Regions from separate parts of the Homo sapiens genome. Here all the other regions are linked to region 2. The links are contacts of gene promoters, found by promoter capture Hi-C in human tissues and cell types (Jung and others, 2019). All regions are on one chromosome and are shown on one strand. The core of a region is centred on a gene start or on the middle of the fragment in contact, and the rest is flanking DNA. Distances in the headings are between cores, read along the strand shown.

Region 1 (4,912 bases), core at 1,117-3,616, 140 kb before region 2:
AGATTCTGAATTTCTCTCAAACATGATAATGCCAGTCACTTGTCGAGTAGCAAGTTTTTTGTTTTTTATTTTTTGTTTGTTTTTCCAGTATTTTCATGACATTCAATGAATAGCAAGGTTTGAAGGTAACTTCTGGAATTTCATCTAATGTGTATTAATTTTTACTTATCTGGATCTTAGGGAAAATAACCTATCAGGATATAGGGAGGTGTTTCTCAGAGTATGGTTCGCCAGAACAGCACAACCTGGGAATTGTTAGAAATGCAAGTTCTCGGCTGGGCGTGGTGGCTCACACCTGTAATCCCATAACTTTGGGAGGCTAAGGCGGGTGGATCACTTGAGGTGAGGGGTTTGAGACCAGCCTGGCCAACATGGGGAAACCCCTTCTATACTAAAAATACAAAAAAAATTAGCCGGGCATGGTGGTGGGCACCTGTAGTCCCAGCTACTCGGGAGGCTGAGGCAGGAGAATCACTTGAACCTAGGTGACAGACGTTGCAGTGAGCTGAGATCGTGCCACTGCACTCCAGCCTGGGCAACAGAGCAAGACTCCATCTCAGAAAAAAAAAAATTCAGGTTCTCAGACTCTATTCTAGGCCTATTGAATCAGTGACATATGCACTCTGAAGTTTGAGAACCACTGTTTTAAGGCTTCTCACTGTAGTCCTGTATTTACTTACGTAGAAATCAAAACACATTTCTAATGTTGTCAGATAATGCAAGGATATCATTTTCTTGTGTAAGTGCATGGGCTAGCACTTTCAAAACTACTAATTCTTGTAATAAATGTTTATTTAATAGCTTATTATATGCTAGCCACTACTTAACATTGGCAAACTTAAAAAATCCCTGTCGTTAAGGAGATTATATTCTAGTGGTGATATTAACTACTAGTTCATGTATGTATTCATCCGTAAGTAGTATATAAACTGTATTTCCATGGTTTTATATTGTAAAACTTAACTTTTCTTTTGCCTCATGGTGTTTTTGTTTGTTTGTTTGTTTTCTGAGACAGAGTCTCGCTCTGTTGCCTAGGCTGGCAGTAGCATGATCTCGGCTCACTGCAACCTCCGTCTCCTGGGTTCAAGCGGTTCTTCTGCCTCAGCCTCCCAAGTAGCTGGGAGTACAGGTGTGTGCCACCATGCCCAGCTAATTTTTGTATTTTTCTTAGAGACGGGGTTTCACCATATTGGCCAGGCTAGTCCGGAACTCCTGACCTCGTGATCTGCCCACCTTGGACTCCCAAAGTGCTAGGATTACGGGCATGAGCCACTGTACCTGGCCCTGTGTTTTTGTTTTTAAGATTGATCCATGTTGATATGCATAGCCCTAAATTACTCAAAATTGATCTACAGAATTCTATCCAATGAATAAGCCACAATTTGACTGTTTTCCTGTTGATGGACATTTTGGTTGTTTTCAGCTTGGTTGATTGTTTCTTTGCTTTTATAAACATATTAAATGCTCTGCATTGTTCTGTGTGGGAAACATGCTAGGGGAGAAGAAAAGACACACACACAATACCTTTAAGGGTAAACAAGCTTTATCCCATGTAAATGGCAATGCAGATATAATAAACAAATGATATAATAAGCAAATTGATACAATAAGCAAATTGTAATGGAAAGAGGAGAAGGGAAAAGAGGTATATATATTTACACTCACCAGACTATGGAGGATTCATCACCAGACTGGGAAGCAACAGCCTGGGCTCCAGAGTCGGCCACTTATCTGTGCACAGACAAGGAGAGGTCTCATGAAGCTTCGGCAGAGTCTGGGACCCTAGCTCTTTTTGTAACGAGTTGTTTGGCATGAGGTCCAGTCACAAGGGGCCTTCGTGACTGGGCTCAAGGAACACAAAAAGGTCAACTTGTTTTTGCGATTTTCTGCTTTTTTTTTTTTTTTTTTAATAACCACCATATAGGAATAGACTGAAATAGAGATTTCTCTGAAACAGTGCTGGATGAACGCCTCAAGGGGCTCACACAACCTTTTCCAAGACTTGGTGACCATTGTTTGTGTGCACGTTCAATTGAGTTCAGATTTAATATTTAACTTTTCCTCCACATGCGTATGCATAAGGATAGTTTCTCTAGAGAAGTGTTTTTCTAATTGTGAGCTGCAAGCAGCATGTTTTAAAAGTAGAAAGAGAATAGAATAGAAAATGTTGGTAGGAGAGAAGATATTAGTATAAGGCATGTAGTGAGAATAGTGTTTTATAGAGCTTTTGTTTTCAGGGGTATGTGTACTGGATAAGATGTAAAATATATTTCTTACTTTGGTTGTGGGCAAACAGGTGTGCAGGCTGTTCAGTTATAAGCAGAACCTTAAACTTGACAATCCTGAATTTCTCTCTGAAGTTGTGATACCAGTTTACAGTCCCAGTGGTGGTATACTGGTGTTTCCATTGTTTTGCATCCTTCCCAACAGTTTGTTTGGTTAAACTGTTAAATTTTTTTCCATTGAGGAGTCTGAGAACAGTTATCTCATTGTGGTTTTACTTTGCCTTTCCTTGCTAACTAGTGAGATTGGGGTCCTTTTTTTTTTTTAATGCAGGAAAATTAATATAATTCACCTGGTAGAGAGATACCAGATTAGTGTTGAAATTGATAATGAGTGTAATGCTCAGTGGCATATTCTAAATACACTTCTGTGAAGAAGTGAAATGACTTGACTTGCTAATACTAATGATTGACAGTTGAGGGGCTTAAGTGGTTTAATTTAATGTCGTTCTCTCTTTAAACACTGTAGTCTATGTTCAATTCTATAAACTTGAATCTTTGAATTTAGTATAATGACGTTGTATTTATACAAGACTATGAGTAGTCATTAGTGGCAGCATCATTTTATTGATTTGAGTATTAATATTTTTATATTTTTATAGATACCTGTCCAATTTTTTCTTTTAAAATTTTATAACGAAAATACATGTATGAATTATTTTTTAAAGTATAAAAAAGTAAAAAGAAATTAGTCTTCTTTTCCTGTCCCCCGACTCTCCCCAGAAGCAAGTACTATAAAAAGATTCTTATATGACCTCTTAGATATATATATACCTTATCACTATCCCCTTGCCCTCCTTTTTATTTTTAGTTTATTTATTCAAATGACATTCTATTCATTGTTCTGTAGCTGTTCATTCCTTCTGCTTAACACTGTATCTTAAAGATTGTTTCATTTTAACACATAGGAATTTTACCACTACTGAATTTGATTCCATTCTGTAGATGCATCATAATTCATTTGACTATTTATGTATATTTAGATTAAAAAGAAAACCCACATAAAAATTTCAGCTTTTGTAAACTATATTGAATTAAATATTTTGTACTTAAATGAATGTGTGACTACAGGATAAGTTCCAGGAGGTGGAATTACAGGGTCAAAGGGACATACATTCAGATAGATGTTTGCCAAATTACCTTCTAAAAATCCAACCAATTTATACTCTCCCAAAAATAGATCAGAATGGGCCGGGTGCGGTGGCTCACGCCTGTAATCCTGGCACTTTGGCAGGCCGAGGTGGGTGGACCACCTGAGGTCAGGAGTTCGAGACCAGCCTAGCCAATATGGTGAAACCCCATCTCTACTAAAAAATACAAAAATTAGCTGGGGTGGTGGCGCCTGCCTGTAGTCCCAGCTACTCAGGAGGCTGAGGCAGGAGACTCACTTGAACTTGAGAGGCGGAGGTCGCAGTGAGCCGAGGTCACGCCACCATACTCCAGCCTAGGCGACGGCTGTAGGTGATTAAATGAGATAGATACGTTTGTTAAAAACAAAACTCTCAGTTATTTATATTGATACATTTATATACTTACATATGTATATCTGGACATCACATCTCATAATTGGAGAACAGGTATCTAAAAAGTTGTTTAACTGACTGTTAAGAAATGTAGTCTGTTGTCTGTTTCCTAGGTAAGCCACTTTTCTTTTCCCCCAGCATTGGAATTCTTCTCTTTTCTCCTCCTCTGCACTTCCTTCCTTTCTGTCTTCACCTTGAGCCCATGCTTCGCTGTGGAACTCCACTTAGGAGGTACTTCTGACAAAAAAAGAGGTCTGCACTGGGAACTTCGTGTCTGGTTGTTGACAGGCATTTCTGTATTGCAGCTGACAGTGTGAGATCTATTGCCCCTACTTTGTGCTGTGTATCTTATGTGTAAATGTTTTTTCTCATTTATATTCTTGTCAAATCATTCACAAATGCAGTTATTTATTATTATTATTATTATTATTTCCTTAGAGATCCTTGTTCTGACACTGTTATTTTTTAATCATGATTACCTGTGAGCCTGTTAATCTCTCTAGGTAATTGAGAACTGATTATAATTTATAATTTTTTTACTTCTGGTTTATAATCTAATGGGAAAACTTTGCATTTAGATTTTCTATAGATTTAAAAATTAGAGCTGAATCATTGCTTCTTCGTATTATTTTAACTTGACAATTATTAAAGAAATGTACTTATGTATTTTAGGGGGGTATATGTTCAAATAGGAAATTTGTAGAAATGATGTAATGTATTGATTTGTAATGATGTCACGTCTTTATCTACAGGTAGGCGAAAACCAAGAGTACATCGGCCTCGTTCTCCTATATTGGAAGAAAAAGACATCCCGCCCCTTGAATTTCCCAAGTCCTCTGAGGATTTAATGGTGCCTAATGAGCATATAATGAATGTCATTGCCATTTACGAGGTACTGCGGAACTTTGGCACTGTTTTGAGATTATCTCCTTTTCGCTTTGAGGACTTTTGTGCAGCTCTGGTGAGCCAAGAGCAGTGCACACTCATGGCAGAGATGCATGTTGTGCTTTTGAAAGCAGTTCTGCGTGAAGAAGACACTTCCAATACTACCTTTGGACCTGCTGATCTGAAAGATAGCGTTAATTCCACACTGTATTTCATAGATGG
Region 2 (4,271 bases), core at 251-2,750:
AGCCAGCTTGGGAGCTGGGCACCTTTCCATACCAGTTACACAATTTCACCTCCTTGCTTGCCTGGGTCCCAGTGCCCTCCAAACAGGCAAGAACTAGCCTTTATTTTTCTCTCCCCTTGCATTAAAGAGATGGATCTGCCCATTTGCAGCTCTGGCAACACTTCATTTAAAGTTGATCAGTCTTGCCAAATCGATAATCTGCTTTAAAATCAGCTTTCACCCAGCAATAATAGCTGGTTAGAGTTCATGTTTTTGCAAAGAGGTTGATTCTGACTCATTATGTTGTTAAACGGTTGTGCCATGCACAGCTGAATAAAGTTCTGGTGGATATCCAATTCCTGACTGTCAACTGTTGACCTCACAACTGCTTCCCCATTGATATAACCATCTGTTGTCATGGGAAAGATTGTCTGATATTTGGGTTAAATGCCACTGAAGTCATTCAATTTCCATGTGGAAAAATAACCCAGAGTAAATTGCCCTGTGAGGTACGGAAACTGTTTTTCCCAGAGATAGCGAAGCCGACAGAACATCCAAATAAAAGCAAAACAAAAACACGATCCCCCAGAGAACCCCTCATTTCTTCACGGGCTGAGTAACTTAATTTCATTTCGTGCATGAAGTATAAGAGTGTGTGCGTGTTAGTTAAACCCCGGCTCAGGTGTCCCAAGGTTGTGCGCTGGGGCTGCGGGGAGAGCAAAGTGCCCGGGGCTGCCGGATTTCGGCCCCGCTTCCCCCCAGCCCTCCACAGCGCCCCCCGCAGCCCCTGCTCACCCAGTCGAGGGGGGCGGACCCCGCGGCGTCCTGCGAGCCCGGCCCGGGCACGGCTCCCGAAAGGCGCGCCACGACCCCTTTTGACACTTTCCCTCCTCCGTGATGGAGCAACTACTTAACATGCAAAGTTTTCCCCAGCCTGCCCGGCTTGCTCGGGATCATTTCAGTAGCTAAATTGGCTTCTTTCCGAAAAGGCTGCCAAGAGACACGAAACCTTGGGGACACACTTTGCTCCTTTATAAGACGAACGCAGACCCGGGGTGTCCTCTCTTGCGAGCTCTGACCCCCCTCCTCGTCCCACGTTTCACTGAGCCTCCTTCCCAGCTCCCCCCCACAGATCCCCGCTCCGCTCCCAGGGCCCCGCACTACACCAATCTTACTTTTTCTCTCCGCCACCGGTGCTTCGGGGGATGATCCGACGATCAAACAGAGGAGCCAGAAAGCTCTAGCTGTCATTTTTGCAGACAGGGTTCCCAGGCTCTAAAAGTGAGCCTGGTCTTTTGCTTGCTTTCTCTCCCCCAACCCCTTCTCCACACCCCCACCCCCGTTCATGCTAATGAGGGGCAGCCTTTGGGGAAACGGGAATCACTCGCTGAGCAGACCATTGGAACAAAACCGAGCCGCAGGGATTTCTCCCTCTTCCTTCCTAAGGAGGACGAGCACATGGCCTTGCAAAGTTGTCCCCGGGAATGTCTGTCCTGTGATCTGCGGGCGAGGAGAGCATCACAGCCTAAACTTTAAACCTGTGTGCGTTTGCGCGCTGGGGTGGGGGCAGCAAAGGGTGGGGTGACAAGTGCAGAGAATAAGCGTGTTTCGGGACTGAGGGACTGGGTGGGGGAGAACGAGTGACGGGAGCTTTTTTCTAGATTAGGTCAACAACAAATAGGAAAATAGTGCTTAAGACAGCGTGGGTTTGTGGAAGGGAGATTCCAGATGACAGAGAATGTATCCTGGAATGTGTGTGTTAGGCAATTTCTAGAGAAACCAAGTCACTGCTTCCTTAGTAAAACTGTTTCATTATATATCACAGCTCATTGTAACCTCTGCCTCCCGGACTAAAGCGATTCTCGTGCCTCAGCCTCTCAAGTAGCTGGGATTACAGGCATATGCCACCATGCGAGGCTAATTTTTGTATTTTTAGCAGAGACGGGATTTCACCGTGTTGGCCAGGCTGGTCTCAAACTCCTGACCTCAAGTGATCCACCCACCTTGGCCTCCCAAAGTGCTGGGATTACAGCATGAGCCACCACGCCGGGCCCAGAGGTCTAATTATTAATCAGAATGTTGCCTGTTGAGGCCAGGCAGGGTGGTTCATGCCTGTAATCCCAGTACTTTGGGAGCCCGAGACAGGAGGATCTCTTGAGCTCAGGAGTTCAAGACCAGCCTGAGCAACATGGAGAGAACCTGTCTCTACAAAAAATACAAAAATTAGCCAGGCATGGTGGCTCGCATCTGTGGTCCCAGCCACTTGGGAGGCTGAGGTGGGAGGATCACTTGAGCCTAGGAGGTGGAGGTTGCAGTGAGCCGAGATTGTGCCACTGCACTCCAGCCTGGGTGACAGAGAGAGGCCCTGTCTCAAAAAAAAAAAAAAAAAAAAAAGAAGAAGAAGAAGAAGAAGAAAGAAAAGAAAGAGGAGGAGCCAGGCACAGTGGCTCACGCCTGTAATCCCAGCATTTTGGGAGGCCAAGGCAGGCGGATCACGAGGTCAGGAGTTCAAGACCAGCCTGGCCAAATTAGTGCAACCCTGTCTCTACTAAAATTACAAAAAAGTTAGCAGGGTGTGGTGGCACACACCTGTAGTCCCAGCTACTCAGGAGGCTGAGGCAGGAGAATCGCTTGAACCTGGGAGGCAAAGGTTGCAGTGAGCTGAGACTATGCCATTGCACTCCAGCCTGGGTGATAGAGTGAGACTTTTGTCTCAAAAAGAAAAAAAAAAAGAGGAGGAGGAGGAGAACGAAGAAGAAGAAGAAGGAGAGCAGGGCCAGGTGTGGTGGCTCACGCCTGTAATCCCAGCACTTTGGGAGGACAAGGTGGGTCGATCACGAGGCCAGGAGATCCAGACCATCCTGGCTGACACAGTGAAACCCCGTCTCTACTGAAAATACAAAAAATTAGCCGGGCGTGGTGGCGGGCGCCTGTAGTCCCAGCTACTCAGGAGGCTGAGGCAGGAGACTGGCGTGAACCTGGGAGGCGGAGCTTGCAGTGTGGCGCCACTGCCCTGCCCTCCAGCCTGGGTGACAGAGTGAGACTCTGTCTCAAAAAAAAAAAAAAAAAAAAAAAAGAAGGAGAGGAGGAAGAGGAGGAGGAGGAGGAAAGAAGTTTGCCTGTTGAGCATTAAATCAAAGAAAATAAATTTGCTGGCTGGGTGCGGTGGCTCAACCTGTAATCCCAACACTCTGGGAGGCCAAGGTGGGCAGATCACGAGGTCAGGAGTTCGAGACCAGCCTGGCCAACATAGTAAAACCCCATATCTACTAAAAATACAAAAATTAGCGAGTCATGGTGGCGGGCACCTGTAATCCCAGCTACTTGGGAGGCTGAGGGAGGAGAATCGCTTGAACCCAGGAGGCAGAAGTTGCAGTGAGCCAAGACTGCGCCACTACACTCCAGCCTGGGCAACAGCACAGGACTCTGTCTCAAAAAAAAAAAAAAAAAAAGAAAAAGAAAAAGAAAAAAAAGAAAAGAAATTTGCCTGTTGAGCATTAAATCAAATTGCAGCTAAGGAGATGAGCTAATCTTCCCTCATTCAGGTGTTAGAGGAGTGAATTATATTCTCCATCCAAAAGAGTAAACCTCTACAGCCCCTGCAAAGCTTGGGTATACCAGAGTCAGGGTCTCCAGACCCTAGACAAGACCAGATAAACACTAGTAAATTCATGCCCTTGGGGCCCTGTTTATAGATGTCCTCAGATCCCCTTCTTTCACGTGCTCTTTCTTTAAGTCAAGTGGAATAAAATTCACTAGGCTTAAGATTTCTCAGTTACAACCACATCTCTAACATACCTTCTTACCATTACATTCAAATCACCCAGAACCTATTGGGGGTGTTCCCGAAACTCTTCTGTTGCAGGAATGTTGTGAATGCCCTGAAACCCACACCCTGAAATGTAGAGGCAGGGAGCAGGCTGGATGGCTCCCAGGGGCTCCCAGAGGCTCCTGGGGTGGCACCAGCTGGAAGAACCTGCCAGAGTCCAGTCCTGGGTCTTGGGCAGTGTCTGGCTTGAGCCTTAGAAATCACACTAATGGGCCAGGCGCGGTGGCTCACGCCTGTAATCTCAGCCCTTTGGGAGGCTGAGGTGGGCGGATCACCTGAGGTCAGGAGTTTGAGACCAGCCTGACCAACATGGTGAAACCCTGTCTCTACTAAAAATACAAAAATAGCCAGGCATGGTGGCAGGTGCCTGTAATCCCAGCTACTTGGTAGGCTGAGGCAGGAGAATCGCTTGAACCCGGGAGGCGGAGGTTGCAGTGAGCCGAGATCGCACCATCGCACTCCA
Region 3 (4,904 bases), core at 2,391-4,890, 170 kb before region 2:
CTGGAGTGCAATATAAACATATATTAATATTTATTGAAATAAATGACTACCAAAAAGTAATTTAAAGAAAAATAGTTGTCTGGGCATGGTGGCTCACACCTTCAATCCCAGCCCTTTGAGAGACCGAGGCCAGAGAATAGCTTGAGGCCAGGAGTTCGAGACCAGCCCGCGCAACATAGTGGGACCTTGTCTCTAGAAAAAATTTGAAAATTAGCTGGGCATGGTGGTGCGCGCCTGTGGTCCCAGCTGCCCGGGAGGCTGAGGTGAGAGGATTGCTTGAGCCTGGGAGGTGGACGTTGCAGTGAGCTGCGATTGCATCACTTCACTCTAGCCTGGGTGACAGAGCAAAACCCCGTCTCAAAATTTAAAAAGAAAGAAAGAAAAGAAAGGAAACCTAACAGGATTCTGATTCTGTCCACCAAATGGCTTATTTCTTTTTTCTTTTTTTGAGACAGAGTCTCACTTTGTCGCCCAGGCTGGAGTACAGTGGTGCGATCTTGGCTCACTGCAACCTCCGTCTCCTGGGTTCAAGCGATTCTCCTGTCTCAGCCTCCAGAGTAGCTGGGATTACAGGCAAGTGCCACCACGTCCAGCTAATTTTTGTATTTTTAGTAGAGATGGGGTTGTACCATGTTGGTCAGGCTGATCTCGAACCCCTGACCTCAGGTGATCCGCCCGCCTCATCCTTCCAAAGTGCTGGGATTACAGGCATGAGCCACTGCGCCTGGTGGCTTATTTCAATCTAGATAGGAAAATATAACACATATGTGAAATGAAAAAATACAAGCACTAATTGCCAAATAAATGTATTCAATATAATTTGGTTGAGCACTATGGGTGACAAATCTGTATATGCCTCCAGGAACCAGGTAAGTAATGAAAGTCAACAAAGTAGGGGAAGATGAGGACTTGGCCAATGGAAGTGCCCCCCGCTTTTTTTTTTTTAGACAGACTTTCGCTCTGTTGCCCAGGCTGGAGTGCAGTGGTGTGATCTGCACTCACTACAACCTCCACCTCCCAGGTTAAGCGATTCTCCTGCCTCAGTCTTACAAATAGCTGGGACTACCGGTGCTCCATCACACCTGGCTAGTTTTTAGTAGAGACAGGGTTTCACCATGTTGACCAGGCTGGTCTCGAACTTCCGCCCTCAAGTGATCTGCCTGCCTTTGCCTCCCAAAGTGCTGGGATTACAGGCATGAGCCACCACGCCCGGCCCTGGCCCCGTATTTTGTTTAAAGAGGGTGGCTGGGCACAGTGGCTGTAGCTTGTAATCCCAGCACTTTGGGAGGGAGGCGGGTGGATTGCTTGAGCTTAGGAGTTTGCAGTGAACCAAGATCGCTGGGATATGCATATTTAAGGTTTCAATTTTTGTGTCTCCAAATAAAATTCTCAGTTCCTCACTACCTTTTTTTTTTTTTTGAGATAGAGTCTTGCTGTGTCACCCAGACTGGAGTCCAGTGGCACGATCTTGGCTCACTGCAGCCTCTGCCTCCTGGGTTTAAGCGATTCTCCTGTCCGCTTCCCAAGTAGTTGGGATTACACGCATGAGCCACCATGCCCAGCTAATTTTTGTATTTTTAGTAGACAGGATTTCACCATGTTGCCCAGGATAATCTCGAACTCCTGGGCTCAAGTGATCCGCCCACCTGGCCTCCTCAAGTGCTGGGATTACAGGCCTGAGCCACCGTGCCTGACCACCCTCTTCAAACAAAATATGGGCACCTCCATTGGCCTAGGTCTTCATCTTGCCTACTTTATTGACTTACATTACTTACCTGGTCCCTGGAGACATATACACATTTGTCACCCTTAGAGCTCGACCAAATTGTATTGAATGCATTTCTCTGGCAATTAGTGCTTGTATTTTAATTTTCATTTCACATATGTGTTCCATTTTCCTAACAAGACTGAAATAAGCCATTTGGTATGCAGAATTCTGTTAGATATTTTTATTTTTATTTTTTTGAGACGGAGTCTTGCTTTGTTGCCAGGCTGGAGTGCAGTGGTGCGATCTCGGCTCACTGCAACCTCCACCTCCCAGGCTCAAGCGATTCTTCTGCCTCAGCCTCTGGAGTAGCTGGGACTACAGGCACGCACCACCACGCCTGGCTAACTTTTGTATTTTTAGTACAGAACTTTTGCATTTTTAGTAGAGATGGGGTTTCACCATATTGGCCAGGCTGGTCTCAAACTCCTGCCCTGGTGATCCGCCCTCCTCAGCCTCCCAAAGTGCTGGGATTACAGGCGTGAGCCACCGCGCCCAGCATCTTTTTTAAAAAAAATTGAGACAGGGTCTTGCTCTGTCACCCAAGCTGGAGTGCAGTGGTGCAATCACGGCTCACTGCAACATCCACCTCCCAGGCTCAAGCAATCCTCCCACCTCAGCCTCTCGCTAGCTGGGACCACAGGTGCACACCACCATGCCCGGCTAATTTTTCAAATTTTTTCTAAAGACGAGGTCCTGCTATGTTGCCCAGGCTGGTCTTGAACTCTTGACCTCAAGCTATCATCCGGCCTTGGCCTCTCAAAGGACTGGGATTGCAGGTGTGAGCTACCACGCCCGGCCAACTATTTTTCTTTAAATTACTTTTCGGTTGTCACTTCTCTCAATAAATATTCATATGTTTATAACACCTTTCTCTTATCTAAAGAGCTGACCTCAACCACTCAGGGTTGAGTCGCTGTGATAAGGTTTGAGGGTGCCTGAAATGTCATCATGATTCGTCCTTTGGGCTAAGCTGAAACCTAGTGACTTGTCAGGTCAATAAATTAAGGTTATTTCCCGATAATACAAACATTTAACACCGTGAAGTAGGTTTTAGGCAGGATTCCCTCTTTTCCACTGCAAAGGAGAGGTAAGTTCTTGCTGAGGTGATCGAAGTCCTAGCTGGGGCACTGGGAAGGTGGCGGGACATTGGAACGTGCAGTAGTTGCGTTCTGGAGTTTACTGAGGCTTTCCCAGTGCGGATTCCACGCTACAGGTCTTAGGGCGCCCCTCCCTCCGGGCGTGGCAGCCCGGGGCGTGGCTCCTGGCACAGATCCGGAGCAGTTGTCATTGGAGTCATTTTCTGGACTCCAGCTCCATGCTTCAGAGTTTCCTAAGTTCAGGGGGCTTGTCTCTCTGTCCCCTCGACTAATTTCCCTCTGTCGCTGGCGCTGCCCGGTGCCCTCGGTCGCTTGGGCCGCCCCTCTCCGCGACTTTTTTTTTTCTTTCTCTCGCTGGCTCTTTCAGCATCAGTTTCCATAGGGGGAGGGAAGGGAATGATATTTGGGGGCTCCCTTGCCTTCCTCTCCGAGCCGCGAAAGGGGAGACGCGGGGAGGAGGTCCGGCCGGCTTTGGGCTCCAGCCAGCGGTCCGCGGAGACTTTGGTCTCCGAAGGCCTTTGACGCCGGGCATTTCGCGAGCTGCGCGCCCCTCTCAGCCGCGCCACCTGCGCCCGGAGTTTTGCCGCGCCACCCGCGCCCGGAGTCCAGCCGCACCGCGCTGTGCCGAGCCCAGGCGCCCAGGGCTCCCCGCCCCCGACTCGACGCTCCCGCGCTCCCCCTAGCGGCCGCCGCGCCGCTTCGCTCCGTCCCAGGCTCGTCGGCGGCGCAGCTCACGTGACCGCGCTCTGGGCCTGCGGCCGCTGTCGGTTCCCCCAGTCACCGAGCGAGAGGGAAGAAACAAGATGGCGGCTGAAGGCGATCCGGAGTGGGGCCCCAGCAATTCGGATTGAGCCTTCTCCCTCCACCCGCTTCCGTCGGCCGGGCCCCTCCCGCCCGGCCCCGCGGGCCTCCCCACCCGGCCCCGGCGCTCCCCACCGCCCCCCCTGCGCCCGCCCCTCCCCCTTCGCTTTCCTTCTCCCCCCGCCTCGGCTCCGACATGAGGGGCCGGCGGGGCAGGCCGCCCAAGCAGCCCGCGGCTCCCGCTGCGGAGCGCTGCGCCCCGGCCCCGCCGCCACCGCCGCCGCCGCCCACGTCCGGACCCATCGGGGGGCTCCGCTCGCGGCACCGCGGCAGCAGCCGGGGCAGGTGGGCCGCCGCCCAGGCTGAGGTGGCGCCCAAGACGCGGCTGAGCTCGCCCAGGGGGGGCAGCAGTAGCCGGAGGAAGCCGCCGCCGCCGCCGCCGGCCCCCCCCAGCACCAGCGCCCCGGGCCGGGGGGGGCGAGGAGGCGGGGGCGGCAGGACGGGGGGCGGGGGCGGCGGCGGCCACCTGGCCCGGACCACCGCGGCCCGGAGGGCCGTCAACAAAGTGGTGTACGATGACCACGAGAGCGAGGAGGAGGAGGAAGAGGAGGACATGGTCTCCGAGGAGGAGGAGGAGGAGGACGGCGACGCCGAGGAGACCCAGGATTCTGAGGACGACGAGGAGGATGAGATGGAAGAGGACGACGATGACTCCGATTATCCGGAGGAGATGGAAGACGACGACGACGACGCCAGTTACTGCACGGAAAGCAGCTTCAGGAGCCATAGTACCTACAGCAGCACTCCAGGTACCCACCCAGCCCAGTTGCTGCAGACTCCTTCCCCACCTCCTCTGCCCTCCCCCCTTGCTCACTCGTGTGCTGTGCATCCTGCTCCGATCTCCCCCCAACCCCGCCTCCCCCCCAAACAGAGGGGAAATGCGACGGCACATCAAGTGGCAAAAAACTAGATTTACAAGAGGAAAGAGGCGCATTGTTCAAAATGGAGATTGCATTGTTGCAGTTTGCAGGCCACACTCGCTCGCTCTCTCTCCCCCCCCCAACCCCCTTTTTTTCCTCTTCAAAATTTGTGCCAGTGCAGTGTCTCCACCGGGCAGGATTGAAACTTTGGCAAACACATATCCATTGCATTCATTTTTCTCCCCTTGTTTTGGTGTGGTTTTCTGGAATGAAAGAAGCCTCTTGTTTTGCAAACCTCTTTGCATTTCTAATGTGGTT

Evidence for each region. The method cuts DNA at HindIII sites, captures the fragments that hold promoters and counts their contacts. A contact is called where the count stands out against the background at its distance.
Region 1: a fragment that was not itself captured here is called in contact with the fragment with the promoter of C17orf58 in region 2 in 2 of the 25 tissues and cell types used here (H1 embryonic stem cells and lymphoblastoid cells).
Region 3: the fragment with the promoter of BPTF here is called in contact with the fragment with the promoter of C17orf58 in region 2 in 1 of the 25 tissues and cell types used here (hippocampus).

The regions. Positions count from the first base shown.
Region 1 is chr17:67,849,383-67,854,294 of GRCh38, forward strand. It overlaps BPTF (bromodomain PHD finger transcription factor), which reads left to right. Exons shown (of 28, transcript NM_182641.4): 2 at 4,558-4,912. Among named protein-coding and RNA genes, the nearest start is that of BPTF, 26 kb to the left of the region's middle. The HindIII fragment of the contact is 3,560 bases long and covers 587-4,146 here.
Region 2 is chr17:67,994,969-67,999,239 of GRCh38, forward strand. It overlaps C17orf58 (chromosome 17 open reading frame 58), which reads right to left and starts at 1,501. Exons shown (of 4, transcript NM_001382359.1): 1 at 1,155-1,501. The coding sequence starts at 1,230. RefSeq lists a silencer at 731-820. The HindIII fragment of the contact is 9,773 bases long and covers 1-1,706 here.
Region 3 is chr17:67,821,863-67,826,766 of GRCh38, forward strand. It overlaps BPTF (bromodomain PHD finger transcription factor), which reads left to right and starts at 3,641. Exons shown (of 28, transcript NM_182641.4): 1 at 3,641-4,475. The coding sequence starts at 3,863. RefSeq lists enhancers at 2,889-3,586, 3,587-4,282, 4,245-4,514 and silencers at 3,495-3,564, 3,765-3,814, 3,995-4,194. The HindIII fragment of the contact is 39,315 bases long and covers 1-4,904 here.